Linked DNA regions of Homo sapiens: regions 2, 3, 4 and 5 are each linked to region 1. The links are contacts of gene promoters, found by promoter capture Hi-C in human tissues and cell types (Jung and others, 2019). All regions are on one chromosome and are shown on one strand. Each heading gives the region's core, a stretch centred on a gene start or on the middle of the fragment in contact. The rest is flanking DNA. Distances are from core to core; before and after follow the strand shown. Region 1 holds the start of ASAP3 (ArfGAP with SH3 domain, ankyrin repeat and PH domain 3). Region 2 has its middle 24 kb from the start of HTR1D. Region 3 has its middle 10 kb from the start of RPL11. Region 4 overlaps HNRNPR (heterogeneous nuclear ribonucleoprotein R). Region 5 overlaps HNRNPR (heterogeneous nuclear ribonucleoprotein R).

Region 1 (2,754 bases), core at 92-2,591:
GCTACTCGGGAGGCTGAGGCAGGAGAATGGTGTGAACCTGGGAGGCGGAGTTTGCATTGAGCCAAGATCGCGTCACTGCACTCCAGCCTGGGCGACACAGCGAGACTCCGTCTCAAAAAAAAAAAAGGAAAGAAAAAAGGTCTGCCTTCCCCAAAGTCGATGCTCCTTCCACAATCCTCTATCACCCTTACAAAGTGATACAAACAGACTCCGAGATGGAGGGTCACCCTGACAAGAGAGAAGAGGACAGATTTCCTGACACTGGCGCAGGGTGTTATGAACTACTGAGCTTTGTATCTGCCACGCAGTGGGTGCCTAGTACACTTAAGGTGAAGGGTGGAAGGCTAGAGCCGTTGCTGAGGTCCAAAATGCCACCCAAATTGAGGGCATCCTTTGGATGGGGAGCTGCAAAAACACATTATTCTCCGTTGGACCAAGGCCACGGGGTGTCTGTCCTAGAATATTCTTTGCAGAGGAGCTGCGGAAAGCTGCAGCAGGTTCAGAGAAGAGGAATGGAAGGAACTCCGAAGAGCATGGGAATGGGGTGGGGCAGCCTGCAAGACCGAAAGAAAAGGCCTGGGACGCTTTGCTGGGAAAGACAAAGAGGAGAGGGGAGGGGAGAGGAGACGATAAACTTGCCAACAGCCCGGCCAAGGTGAACCCCGGCTCCTGGCGCCTTCCCATCCGCATTCATTCCACAAACGCGGGCCAAATCTCCGAACCAGCCGCAAGCGGGAGGGGGCCTCTCTGCAGCCGGGGGGAAGAAAGTTCAGGACTGAGGCGGGAAGCCTGCCTCTCAGAAGGGGAGTGACTCGGGGGGCACACTTGTGGGGCTCCGAAGATGAAAACGCAAACTGAGGCTGGAAGGCGCTAGGCAAACACATATGTGATGAGGCGGTCACGCGGGGCACTTGGGGTACGTCCCCCGACCTGTGGAGTTTGTCATCGAAGAGACCTCGAGGCCCCCCAAAACGGTCCCTCGGGCCTTCCCCCGCCTCGACGGTGAGGACGCAGCTGTTGGAGATGCGCTCGGTCCTCCCAGACCTAGGGAGGGGGCAGGTTTCGGGGCGCGGTGAAGGGCCATCGCAGCTCGGGTGCGACACGCCTGTGGAGGTCAAGGCCAGGCCCGGCGCCGACCCCCGACCCCTCCCGCCTCGGCCCCCTCACCTCCTCCCGCGCCAGCGCCGCCCCTCGGTACCGGGGCATCTTGGCGGCGAAGGCGGCGGCCCCAGCCGGGGAGCTGAGGTCCTCCGCGGTGACGGCCAGGAACTCGGCGACGCTGAACTGCTCCGGCATGGCGGGCGCGAGCGTGGAGCTGCCGGAGCGGGGCGCGGGGGGCACTGAGCTGCTCCGCGCTGAGCCGGCCTCACCGCCGGCCGGGGGCGCCGTCCCGGCCTCCACACGCCCCGCCCCTCCGCACGCCCCGCCCCCGACCCTCCAGCCGCTCTCCGCTCCTCAGCTGGGACGGCCCCGCCCCCGGCTCCTCGCCTTCCTCCACCGCCAAGGTCCAGGCTCCGGCCCCGGTCCCGGCCCCGCACCGCGTCAGGCCGCTTCCCCGGCCCCTCGCCGGCCCCCTAGGCCACGCCCCCAGCCCCTCACCGCCTCAGACCCCGCCCCCTGGCGCGATGCCCCACCCCTGGCCTCAGTAGAAACTCCTCCGCCTTCCCCCATCCCTGCCCCTTCAGGGCTCTGTCCCGTTTCATCCCGCTCTGGGTCTTCCAAATCCTCCTCCCTTGCACGGCCCAGGCTGTTCCATCTCCGCGTCGAGTCTTAGAGCCCCCTCCCTCTTCCTCCCTCCTCTGCTGATTCGTTCCGAGTTCCCCATGACCTCGCCCCTTCTGCCCTACCACCCCCCCGCCACCCTTCCCTCCTCTCTCCCCAGTCCCGCCCAATCTCCTTGCCTCGCTCCGCCCCGAATCGCCCCACCCCTCCTTTGCTGCGTACGCCCAGCTCTCAGCCTCAGCTTTGCAGGCATCCGGAGACTCCCTCCTGATAACCCCCGCCGCCCCGGGGATGTGTGGATCGGGGCCCCTGGCTAGCTGTGTGACTTGGGGAAAATTACTTCTCTTCTGGAACCTCAGTTTCCTTATCTGTACAATGGGAAGCCTGATGCCCGCTTGATTGTGATGTTGCGAAGAACCGAACACGTGCGTGTACTAGTTCCCTCTTACCCGACCATAGATCGCACCCACGCCTTTACTCTTCCTGCTCCTGCCTTTCACCCCTTAATCTGGCTCACCATCCTTTGGGGCGGATGAGGGATGGGGTTCAGGATAGAAATCCACTTAGGTTTAGTTCTGAAGCCTGAGGTCCTCTGGGGAAAAGTTCTCCAAGTAAAAAGCTAGGAAAGCACCGCAGCAAGGAACATTGGTTTTGGAGTCAGAGGAACCTAGATTCCAATCTTGGTTACTTTGGATAAATTGCTTGCTTCTCTAAGCCTGCATTTCCCCCTCTTAAAATGGCCTCATGGTATTTTACCCCACAGGGCGGCGATTGAGAGAATCTTTTCTTTTCTCGCACAGAAAAGAAAAGAAAAGAAAAAATCCGGAAAGATATGCACTAAAATGTTGCACCAGCAACATTTTATGCACTAGCTGAAGACAGATATGCACTAGCTGAAGACATTATGAGTAACTTTCTTTTCTTTTGGTGAATCTGTATATCCTAACTTTTATACAATGACCATATACTACTGTGTAATAGAATTAAAAGTTGACGGGAGCGATGGCTCATGCCTGTAATCTTAGCACTTTG
Region 2 (2,754 bases), core at 174-2,673, 240 kb before region 1:
CATGGTGAAACCCCGTCTCTACTAAAAATACAAAAAAAAATTTAGCCGGGCGTGGCGGCGGGCGCTTGTAGTCCCAGCTACTCGGGAGGCTGAGGCAGGAGAATGGCGTGAACCCGGGAGGCGGAGCTTGCAGTGAGCGAAGATCGCACCACTGCACTCCAGCCTGGGGGACAGAGCGAGACTCCGTCTCAAAAAACAAAACAAAACAAAAACAAAACAAAAACAAAGGGTTCATACAAAGAATTATCCTAAGAAGTGCATAGGAGCTGGGCGAGGTGGCTCACGCCTGTAATCCCAGCACTTTGGGAGGCCGAGGCAGGCGGATCACCTGAGGTCAGGAGTTTGAGACCAGCCTGGCCAACGTGGTGAAACCCTGTCTCTACTAAAAATACAAAAATTAGCCAGGCGTGATGGTGGGTGCCTGTAATCTCAGCTACTTGGGAAGCTGAGGCAGGAGAATCACTTGAACCTGGGAGGTGGAGGTTGCCGTGAGCGGAGATTGCGCCACTGCACTCCAGCCTGGGTGACAGAGCGAGACTCCGTCTCAAAAAACAAACAAGCAAAAAAACCCCACAAAAATTAGCTGGGCATGGTGGCACATGCCTGTAATCCCAACTACTTGGGAGGCTGAGGCACGAGAATCGCTTGAATCCCGGGGGGGCAGAGGGTGCAGTAAGCTGAGATCATGCCACTGCACTCTAGCCTGGGAGACAGAGGGAGATTCCATCTCAAAAAAAAAAAAAAAAAAAAAAACAGTTCATAGGAAGAAGACAAAGAACCCACTAGAAAAATGGGCAAATGCCCGGGTGCGGTGGCTCACGGATCACGAGGTCAGGAGATCGAGACCACGGTGAAACCCCGTTTCTACTAAAAATACAAAAAAAAAAAAAATTAGCTGGGCGCGGTGGAGGGCGCCTGTAGTCCCAGTTGCTCGGGAGGCTGAGGCAGGAAAATGGCGTGATCCCGGAAGGCGGAGCTTGCAGTGAGCCGAGATCACACCACTGCACTCCAGCCTGGGCGACATATCGAGACTCCGTCTCAAAAAAAAAAAAAAAGAAAAGAAAAAGAAAAATGGGCAAAGGACACAGAGAATTCATAGCAGTTGACTGCAAGTGGCCAAAACACTTAGGAGATCGTGCTCACCCTCACAGGGAGGTCAGGGAATACACATTTACAACCAGAAGATACTATTTTTCTCTTACAATATTGACAACAATTTAAACAATTAGTAATATATGGGGAAGTGTTAATGAGCCACAAATCGCTACCCTTTTTTTTTTTTAGAGACGGGGCCTCCCTATGTTGCCCAGCATAAAATACAGTGGCTACTCACAGGCACCATCAAAGTGCACTGCAGCCTCAAACCCCTGGGCTCCCACCTCAGCCTCTTGAGTAGCTGGGACTACGGGCATGCACTACACACCCAGCTAATATTTTTTAAAAATCGCTCTTTTTTAAAAACTGAAATACAATTCAGATCATAAACTCATGCTTTAAAGCTTGCTACAACCTTTGAGAAAATCATCTGACATTATTTATTAAAATTTAAAACATGCATACATAACTAAATTATTAAAAATTAAAATGCATACTTTTTGACACAGCAATTCCACTTCTAGGAAATAAAACTATGAGTGCTTTTATTAACGATATGTGTGCAAGGAGATTCACTGAAGCACTCATAACCGCAACAAGCAAAAAAACTGGACCCAAGCTACAAGGCCACCAGTGAGAGAAAGCTGCATGAATGAGTCTACATATCTCACATAGGATGTTACTAGCTACTAAAAAGAATGAAATATTGCATATGAATATGAATGACCGCTAGGACATGGTATTATAGTGAAAAAAGCAAGGTGCAGGCTGGGTGCGGTGGCTCATGCCTGTAATCCCAGCAATTTGGGTGTGCAAAGTGGTCGAATCCTTTGAGCCTAGGGGTTTGAGACCAGCCTGGGCAACATGGCGAAATCCCATCTCTCCAAAAAACTTACAAAAAGTAGCTGAGTGTGATGGCACACGCCTGTGGTCCCAACTACTTGGGAGGCTGAGGCGGGAGAACTGCTTGAACCCAGGAAGTCGAGGCTGCAGTGAGTCATGATTGTGTCACTGCACTCTAAGTCTGGGCCTAGAGTGCAGTGGCACAATCATGAGCCTTTAAGAGCCTGTCCCGAAAAAAAAAAAAAAAAAAAAAAAAAAGCAAGGCGCAGAACAGTATTATATGTACAAGATATACAGTATATCCTGTTATGTAAAACTGGGGATGGGGGGCAATGCATATACATAATTGCTTATCCATGCTTAATGCAGCCCTGGAAGGATGCACAAGAAAGGTAACACTGGAAGCTTTTGGGGAGATAACCGGGTACCTGGGGTAGGGGTGAGAGGGAGGCTCATTTTTGAATATTCTTGTGTACCTCTGGAGTTTTGAATCATGTGAATTACTTAATATAATTGTAGATTAATTAATATATCTAAATATATTGGAAAGCTGTCTGCTATGTATTGTTAAATGAAAAAAGTATATTCCAGAACAGTATAGAATGATTCTTTTTGTAGAAAAAGGAAAGAAAGCAAAAGAAAGGAACAAACATCCTAACACTATACACACATACACGCACATATCTTTGTTTAGGCATTAAAAAAAAAAGAAGAATGGGCAGGTGCAGCGGCCCACACCTGTAACCCCAGCACTTTGGGAGGCCAAGGTGGGAGGATGCTTGAGGCCAGGAGTTCAAGACAAGCCTGGGCAACATA
Region 3 (2,754 bases), core at 128-2,627, 200 kb after region 1:
TGTTCTCTTGCCTAAACTGTCTTTTCTTTTCTTTTTCTTTTTCTTTTTTCTTTTTTCTTTTTTTTTTTGAGATGGAGTCTGGCTCTGTTGCCCAGGTTGGAGTGTAATGGCGCGATCTCAGCTCACTGCAAGCTCTGCCTCCTGGGTTCACGCCATTTTCCTGCCTCAGCCTCCCAAGTAGCTGGGACTACAGGCGCCCGCCACCACGCCCGGCTATTTTTTTTGTATTTTTAGTAGAGATGGGGTTTCACCGTGTTAGCCAGGATGGTCTCGATCTCCTGACCTTGTGATCCACCCAACTTGGCCTCCCAAAGTGCTGGGATTACAGGCGTGAGCCACCACGCCCGGCCCTGTCTTTTCTTTTTTGAGACAGAGTCTTGCTCTTCTCCCAGGCTGGAGTGCAATGATGCGATCTTGGCTCACTGCCACCTCCACTTCCCAAGTTCAAACAATTCTCCTGCCTCAGCCTCCCCAGTAGCTGGGATTACAGGCTCCCAACACCACGCCTGGCTAATTTGAGTATTTTTCATAGAGACAGGGTTTCACCCTGTTGGCCAGGCTGGTCTCAAACTCCTGACCTCATCCGCCCGTCTTGGCCTTTCAAAGTGCTGAGATTACAGGTGTAAACCACTGCGCCCGGCTGTCTGAACTATCTTAATCCTGATCCTGCTAATATGGTTTTCTCTCTGCTGATGAGCTTGAGGCGTTGGATAAAGCAAAGCAAGTCTTTTTGCCTCTGCCTCTACTGACCTCTGTCTCAAGCAGTGAGGAGGCAGGTGGGTTACTGGGAGTCCAGATGCAAGAGCCAGACAGCTGGGCTTGTAAAGAAGAAAACGCATGGAGGGAAAACTGAGGGGAAGGTCTGGGCCCTAGCCTGGTCTGTCGGCTTCTAAAATAGGACGGGACGCTGGTATTAGACTGCCTGATTTCATTACTGTCTTAAAAGTTACTAGACCAGGAGTGGTGGTGCATGCCTATAATCCCAGCACTTTGGGAGGCCGAGGTGGGTGGATCACTTGAGCTCAGGAGTTCAAGACTAGCCTGGGCAGTATAGTGAGACCTCATCTCTACAAAAAATACAAAAAAATTGGCCAGGTGTGATGGTGCATACCTGTGGTCCCAGCTACTTGGGAGGTTGAGGTGGTAGGATCACTTGAGCCCAGGAGGTCGAGGCTGCAGTGAGCTGAGATCGTGCCTCTGCACTCCAGCCTGGGCAACTGAGTGAAAAAAAGAAAAGAAAAAAAAAAAAAGGGCCAGGTGCAGTGGCGTATGCCTGTAATCCCAGCACTTTGGGAGGCTGAGGAGGGCAGATCACTTGAAGTCAGGAGTTTGAGACCATCCTAGCCAACATGGCAAAACACCATCTCTACTAAAATACAAAAATTAGCTAGGCATGGTGGTGCATGCCTGTAGTCCCAGCTACTCAGGAGGCTGAGGCACAAGAATTGATTGAACCCGGGAGGCAGAGGTTGCAGTGAGCTGAGATCACACCACTGCACTCCAACCTGGGTGACAGAGCAAGACTGTGTCTAAAAAAAGAAAAAAAAAAAAAGCTGGACACGGCTGGACACGGTGGCTCACACCTGTAATCCCAGCACTTTGGGAGTCTGAGGCGGGTAGATCACCTGAGGCCAGGAGTTCAAGACCACCCTGGCCAACATGGCGAAACCCTGTCTCTACCAAAAATACAAAAATTAGCCAGACGTGGTGGCGGGCACCTGTAATCCCAGCTACTTGGGAGGCTGAGGCAGGAGAATTGCTTGAACCCAGGAGATGGAGGTTGCAATGAGCCGAGACATCATGCCATTCCACTCCAGCCTAGGTGACAGAGTGAAACTCCTCCATCTCGAAAAAAAGAAAAAAAAGTTACTAAACTTCTATGTGTTTGTCTGCTCATCTGTAAAATGGGAAAGCAATAGTATCTGCCTCCACAGGGATGCTGAAGGTTGAGTGAGCTGGTGCCTGGTGGGGACAGTAAATTAGTTATTAATCAGCCACCCTCATTATCACAGTATGGGTAATACAGCCACTTAAGAGCTATTCTGGGAAGTTTGTTTGAAGAAAAGGTGGAGTTGGGGTGGGGATTGAGCTTTTGAGAATGAGTTCAATTTTATATCTCCCCAGGTACCTGTTTCCCTTTAAGTTACATAGAAGTTGCAAGAAGTCCCATATATCTTTCACCCAGATTCCCCAAGTCCTTTATTGATTGATTGATTGAGAGGGGGCCGGGTATGGTCTGGCTGTGTCACCCAAGCTAGGGTGCAGTGGTTGGATCATAGCTCATTGCAGTCTCAAACTCCTGGGCTCAAAGGATCCTCCTGCCTTAGCCTCTTCCACCACTGGAATTATAAATGTGTGCCACTATGCTCAGCAGATTCCCTAAAACTTAACTTCACCATGTTCTGCGGTGAGAAGGTATATCCAAACCTACCCCCAAAGGCCAAGGGAGCTGATGGGCTGAAGAAAGAGGATGACAAATCTAGTTTCTCAGAAAGAAACATGTAAGACACTTAGAAGAGAAGTCATGTCTCAGGCAGCCGTGAGACAGTGGGTCCCCGTACTATTACCCCCAAGACCCAGGGCTCATATACCATAGGGAAAGGGTATATGTGCTTCAGAAGAAATGTGTAGGACAATTGAGGTCAACCCTCTGGGAAAGGCAAAAATGCTATGTATGACATAGCCTATAATCTGCTTAAGAAGAGGATTTATATTAAGTGTTTACAATGCTAACATCATGGTTGTTTTGACCTA
Region 4 (2,754 bases), core at 139-2,638, 180 kb before region 1:
TGGGGAGTTCAGCCTTTTCATTTTTACTATCCTACTCCTTCACTACCTTCCTTAGAACAGGTACAGTATCTAGTACTAAATTTGAAGACAGAAACTCCATTTAACTACAAAAGCCTAAATCACATAACTACTAAATCTGTTTTGCACAATCAAACCCATCACACCCCACCCAAAATCACCAACACAACATTTTGAACATGTTAAATTTTATTAAAAATATTTAACATCGTACAAATATTCCAATACAGTTATGGTACATGAACACTGTACCAAAAGCATGATTTTTATTAAACTGATGATTAAATGGAAAAGGTCTTGCAAATGTCCCTATTTTGGTATTTCTTATGTTACTATATCCATATCAGCAATTTATGTTTGCAGGAGCCTTCAGTCCAATTATAGAAATAGTCTTAGAACATAGTACCTAACATTATAATGGGATTCACTAAGTACAAGTCTACCTACATTATCGAAGAGGCTAGAGAAGTCCCTTTTGCCCAACCCTCATATGTGAGAAATCAAGAAAAGCAATGTTCATGGGATCCTGACAAATCTACTATATAAAGTGAGAGCCCTTATTTAAATTTGAGCAATTTAAGTTTTTCCCCAGAATGTCTCCTTTGTTGGTTCCACAAAATGTATTTTGTTTTTAGTGTTTAAAGTCAACAAACTGGCATTGCATTTTCCTTAACTTACATAAACTCATCAGAATTACATGAATATTCCTACTGCTTACCTTAAAACTTCCTAAGGAGCATGCTATTTAGTGCTAAGTTTTATACCCTGATCCTTTCTGTCACTGACACATGCATAAAATGTTACCTTAACACAACCCTGCAATCACTACAATTCTTAAAAGTATTACATAATTTCATTCTAGTGTTGTACAACTAGTCTATAGCAAACTTACAAGTAAGGGTTTATATTCATGACACTGACTAGCACATTTAACATCTAGGAAAGTCTTTCTAGACTGATATTCTCAACCAATAAAGAAGATACAGTGCTGTAAGAATACTGAGAAGGTTCTTCAGGCATGAAAATCCATAATTACTTTTAATCAGTGTTTATACCATATTACAATTATTTTTTATATGGTATGGTCAGAAATGCCTAGTTACTAAATTTAATTTCAATCTATACCTTACCATCATGGAATCCCCTACAAACTATAAGATGAGGGATTTTAATCTTTAGCAATAATTTAAATATTGACTCTTAATTCTACCAATATCTGCTAATCCTATCAGCTACCCTAGCTTTCACACAAAACACAAGTTGTTCATAGGTTTATGTTTCTGCTATGTTCAAGGTCTTAATATTTCAGCTATGTAATTTCCTCTTGACCCAAAGTCATTGTCTCAACATATCTCTAAATTGAGGCCATTATTGTCAAACTGCTAAAACTTTTTAAAGTTTCATTTTACAGTGTTAAGATTACTTTGGAAGATTTTTAAAAATAGTATCTTTGGTGTTTAAGCCCTCCATTCTATCAATGTCTTCTTGTTTTCACTAAAATTAGTGTGCAATAAATATCTCTTTAAGATGCATTATATGTTAATCTATCCAACAAAATATAGAAAATATAATACTAGACTGAAATGACAGTTAAAGCAAATTTATTGTCTCTCCAAGAGACTTTTTAAGATTATAAGGTGTCTATTTTGCTCACTTAAAATATACCCTGAGTATTTCATTACTTCATACTTGCAGGCCTTTCCTGCTGATCTGCTACCAATTTAAAAGTAAGTGAAGTGTTATTATATGTTCCTATTAAGAACAAAATAATTTAATATTAAAGTCCTATTTTTCTACAAGGCTGACATAATTGCCCACTTATAGGATATGGGCATTCTCCCACACTTAATGCCCCACTACTGATAAAAAAAAAAATAGGAAAAAAAAGTTCTTACCAACAATTCCACTGGTTATCGTCCCCAGCGAACCCCACCTAGCAAGTCGACATCATGACATGTCAGGTCAGGGCAGCCTCAACCTCGCTTCCCTGATAGTCAGGTGATAAAAGGAAGGAGTTAAAACAGGAAAAGTACACTTGCAGATTTCTGGATAACATCTGAAAATGATTAAAAAAACAAAAAAACAAAACAAAACAAAACAAAACCAGAGCTTCTGGTAACCTCTAAATAAAAAAGTATATATATGTACTTTTATTTAAAGAAAAAAAACTTTTCTAGAAGGATTAACAATAATTAACTTCAAATTAAATATTATTAAATTGCTGACCAATACATTGTATATGCAATATTTTTAAAGCTTGGTGTTTGCGTTTGAAAATTAAGACCTAATCAACAAACTTCTAATATAAAAGTAAACATGTCTGGCTAATGGATTTGTTATTCTGGATTCTCCAGTCAGTCATCCAATCTACTGGTTTCCTCAGAACAACTCCACCCCTAAGTTAACAGAAGCTCCCATTCTTAGAGAAACATAAACACACTTATAAATCCAGTGTAGTCTTTCTATAAGGCTTTTTCTTAGTTGCTCACTTAAGAGATTCCACATAATAATTGTCCACATAATAATGGACTACACTAATATTAACTTTGGTTAGTTTTCTTTAAGAATATTGGTAGCTCAGTATAATAAAATTATCTTTGAAAAATCAAAATGACAAGTTTTAACATATTTAGAAGCCTTGATAATTGACAAGCAATAGCCTTATAGCAAGTATTTACTGGAAGGGTTTGGTTTTACAAATGCACAATTAATAAAACGTAGGTATGATTATATTCA
Region 5 (2,754 bases), core at 107-2,606, 150 kb before region 1:
GCCCAGCCCCCACTGTCTTTCTAGTGTACTTTTTTTTTTTTTTTTTTTTGAGACGGAGTCTCGCTGTGTCACCCAGGCTGGAGTGCAGTAGCGCGATCTCGGCTCACTGCAAGCTCCGCCTCCCAGGTTCACGCCCTTTTCCTGCCTCAGCCTCCCGAGCAGCTGGGACTACAGGCACCCGCCACAACGCCCGGCTAATTTTTTGTATTTTTAGTAAAGACAGGGTTTCACCGTGTTAGCCAGGATGGTCTCAATCTCCTGATCTCGTGATCCACCCGACTTGGCCTCCCAAAGTGCTGGGATTACAGGAATGAGCCACCATACCCAGCCTCTAGTGTACTTAAAGTTCCATCATTTAAGCTTGATTTTGTTTGATCCTTCTGGTTTGTACTCCTGCCATATCATAAGCTCCACAAGAATCAGGTAATCAGACAAGAATCATACAGTACAGACTAAAAATATTTGGCAATTACCAAATAAGTATAGTCAGGTTCCGAAAAATAAGTAAAATCTTGTGTTTCCTGATTACCAACCTTCCTTACATTCTATTAGGTATTAAGAGCAATCATAGAAAAGAAGATAATCTCCTTGCTCTCAGGAATTTATGTTATAATTGAGGCAACATCTATATAAAGAGCTTAGAGAAGAAAAGATACAATGGTAAACAAAGAAACACAATCTACCTAGAAAAGAGAAATTTACACTTCAGTTTTTTTGGTTTTTTTTTTTTGAGACGGAGTCTCGCTCTGTCGCTCAGGCTGGAGTGCAGTGGCGCGATCTTGGCTCACTGCAAGCTCCGCCTCCCGGGTTCACGCCATTCTCCTGCCTCAGCCTCCCAAGTAGCTGGGACTACAGGCGCCTGCCACCACACCCGGCTAATTTTTTGTATTTTTAGTAGACAGGTGGCCTCACCGTTGTTAGCCAGGATGGTCTCGATCTCCTGACCTCGTGATCCACCCGCCTCAGCCTCCCAAAGTGCTGGGATTACAGGCGTGAGCCACAGAGCCCAGCCAGGTTTTTAAAATTACACAATGTCAGAACAATAAGAGACTTTAGATATCATCAAGTTCAGTGAACACTAGGATTTCACAGGGATGCATGCCTTCGGCCTTCCATTCTTCTACCTTTGACTGAAACAGAGCCATAAATGTAATATAAAACAGGGGTCCCCACACCCCTGGGCCACAGACCCGTACTGGTCCATGGCCTGTTAGGAACCGGGCTGCATAGCAGGAGGTAAATAGCGGGCAAGTGAGAACAAAGCTTCATCTGTATTTACAGCCGCTCCTCATCCTCCCTATCATTGGCATTACTGCCTGAGCTGTGAGCTCCACCTCCTGTCAGATCAGCAGCCGCATTAGGTTCTCACAGGAGGGTGAATCCTATTGTGAAGTGTGCATACAAGGGATCTAGGTTGCATGCTCCTTATGAGAATCTAATGCTTGAAGATCTGTCACCATCTACCAGTATGCCCAGATGGCACCATCTAGTTGCAGGAAAACAAGCTCAGGGATCCCACTGATTCTACATTATGGTGAGTTGTATAATTATTTCATTACATATTACAATGTAATAATAATAGAAATAACTTCAACATACAATAACTATTTCTAATTAAAAAGTCTATCACAGCCGGGCGCGGTGGCTCACGCCTGTAATCCCAGCACTTTGGGAGGCTGAGGCGGGCGGATCACGAGGTCAGGAGATCGAGACCATCCCGGCTAAAATGGTGAAACCCCGTCTCTACTAAAAATACAAAAAATTAGCCGGGCGTAGTGGCGGGCGCCTGTAGTCCCAGCTACTCGGGAGGCTGAGGGAGGAGAATGGCGTGAACCCGGGAGGCGGAGCTTGCAGTGAGCCGAGATCCCGCCACTGCACTCCAGCCTGGGCGACAGAGCGAGACTCCGTCTCAAAAAAAAAAAAAAAAGTCTATCACAGGCCGGATATGGTGGCTCACACCTGTAATCCCAGCACTTTGGGGAGGGTGAGGTAGGCAGATCCCCCAAGGTCAGGAGTTTGAGACCAGCCTGGCTAACACAGTGAAACCCCGACTCTACCAAAAAACAAAAAAAATTAGCAGCCAGGCACGGTGGCTCACGCCTGTAATCCCAGCACTTTGGGAGGCCGAGGCGGGCGGATCATGAGGTCAGGAGATTGAGACCATCCTGGCTAACATAGTGAAACCCTGTCTCTACTAAAAATACAAGAAAAAAAAAATTAGCCGGGCATGGTAGCAGGCACCTGTGGTCCCAGCTGCTCAGGAGGCTGAGGCAGGAGAATGGCGTGAACCCAGGAGGCAGACCTTGCAATGAGCTGAGATCGCGCCACTGCACTCCAGCCTGGGCGACAGAGGGAGACTCCGTCTCAAAAAAAAAAAAAAAAAAAAAAAAAAAAATTAGCTGGATGTGGTGGCGCACGCCTGTAGTCCCAGCTACTCAGGAGGCTGAGGCAGGAGAATCGCTTGAACCCAGGAGACAGAGGTTGAAGTGAGCTGAGATGAGCTGAGATGGCGCTACTGCACTCCAGCACTCCAGCCTGGGCCACAGAGTGAGACTCTGTCTCAAAAAAAAAAAAAAAAAAGAAAAGTATGTCACTACAGCAAGACACGAGTATCCATTTAACTAAGGAATTAGGTTCACTGGTCTTTCATTAAAAGCTGTATATTTACCTTTTCAAAGCTGTTTATCTAAGTAATAAAATGGTAATAATAATAATGGTTCATGGTTATATAGTTCTTGCTACATTCCAGGCATT

The links. Contacts are between HindIII fragments. The study calls those that stand out against the background at their distance.
Region 2: a contact is called between a fragment that was not itself captured here and the fragment with the promoter of ASAP3 in region 1, in 1 of the 25 tissues and cell types used here (IMR-90 fibroblasts).
Region 3: a fragment that was not itself captured here is called in contact with the fragment with the promoter of ASAP3 in region 1 in 2 of the 25 tissues and cell types used here (H1 embryonic stem cells and heart right ventricle).
Region 4: a fragment that was not itself captured here is called in contact with the fragment with the promoter of ASAP3 in region 1 in 1 of the 25 tissues and cell types used here (adrenal gland).
Region 5: a contact is called between a fragment that was not itself captured here and the fragment with the promoter of ASAP3 in region 1, in 2 of the 25 tissues and cell types used here (liver and pancreas).

Annotation. Positions count from the first base shown.
Region 1 is chr1:23,482,838-23,485,591 of GRCh38, forward strand. It overlaps ASAP3 (ArfGAP with SH3 domain, ankyrin repeat and PH domain 3), which reads right to left and starts at 1,342. Exons shown (of 25, transcript NM_017707.4): 1 at 1,168-1,342. The coding sequence starts at 1,296. RefSeq lists silencers at 1,177-1,626, 1,747-1,856, 1,867-1,916 and an enhancer at 2,107-2,206. The HindIII fragment of the contact is 29,915 bases long and covers 1-2,754 here.
Region 2 is chr1:23,240,521-23,243,274 of GRCh38, forward strand. No RefSeq gene overlaps it. Among named protein-coding and RNA genes, the nearest start is that of HTR1D, 24 kb to the left of the region's middle. RefSeq lists a silencer at 1,962-2,162. The HindIII fragment of the contact is 4,016 bases long and covers 1-2,754 here.
Region 3 is chr1:23,680,358-23,683,111 of GRCh38, forward strand. No RefSeq gene overlaps it. Among named protein-coding and RNA genes, the nearest start is that of RPL11, 10 kb to the right of the region's middle. The HindIII fragment of the contact is 6,026 bases long and covers 1-2,754 here.
Region 4 is chr1:23,304,499-23,307,252 of GRCh38, forward strand. It overlaps HNRNPR (heterogeneous nuclear ribonucleoprotein R), which reads right to left. Exons shown (of 11, transcript NM_005826.5): 11 at 190-2,754. Among named protein-coding and RNA genes, the nearest start is that of LINC01355, 20 kb to the left of the region's middle. The HindIII fragment of the contact is 4,009 bases long and covers 1-2,754 here.
Region 5 is chr1:23,334,206-23,336,959 of GRCh38, forward strand. The region is part of intron 4 of HNRNPR (heterogeneous nuclear ribonucleoprotein R); the gene reads right to left. Among named protein-coding and RNA genes, the nearest start is that of HNRNPR, 8.7 kb to the right of the region's middle. The HindIII fragment of the contact is 4,351 bases long and covers 1-2,754 here.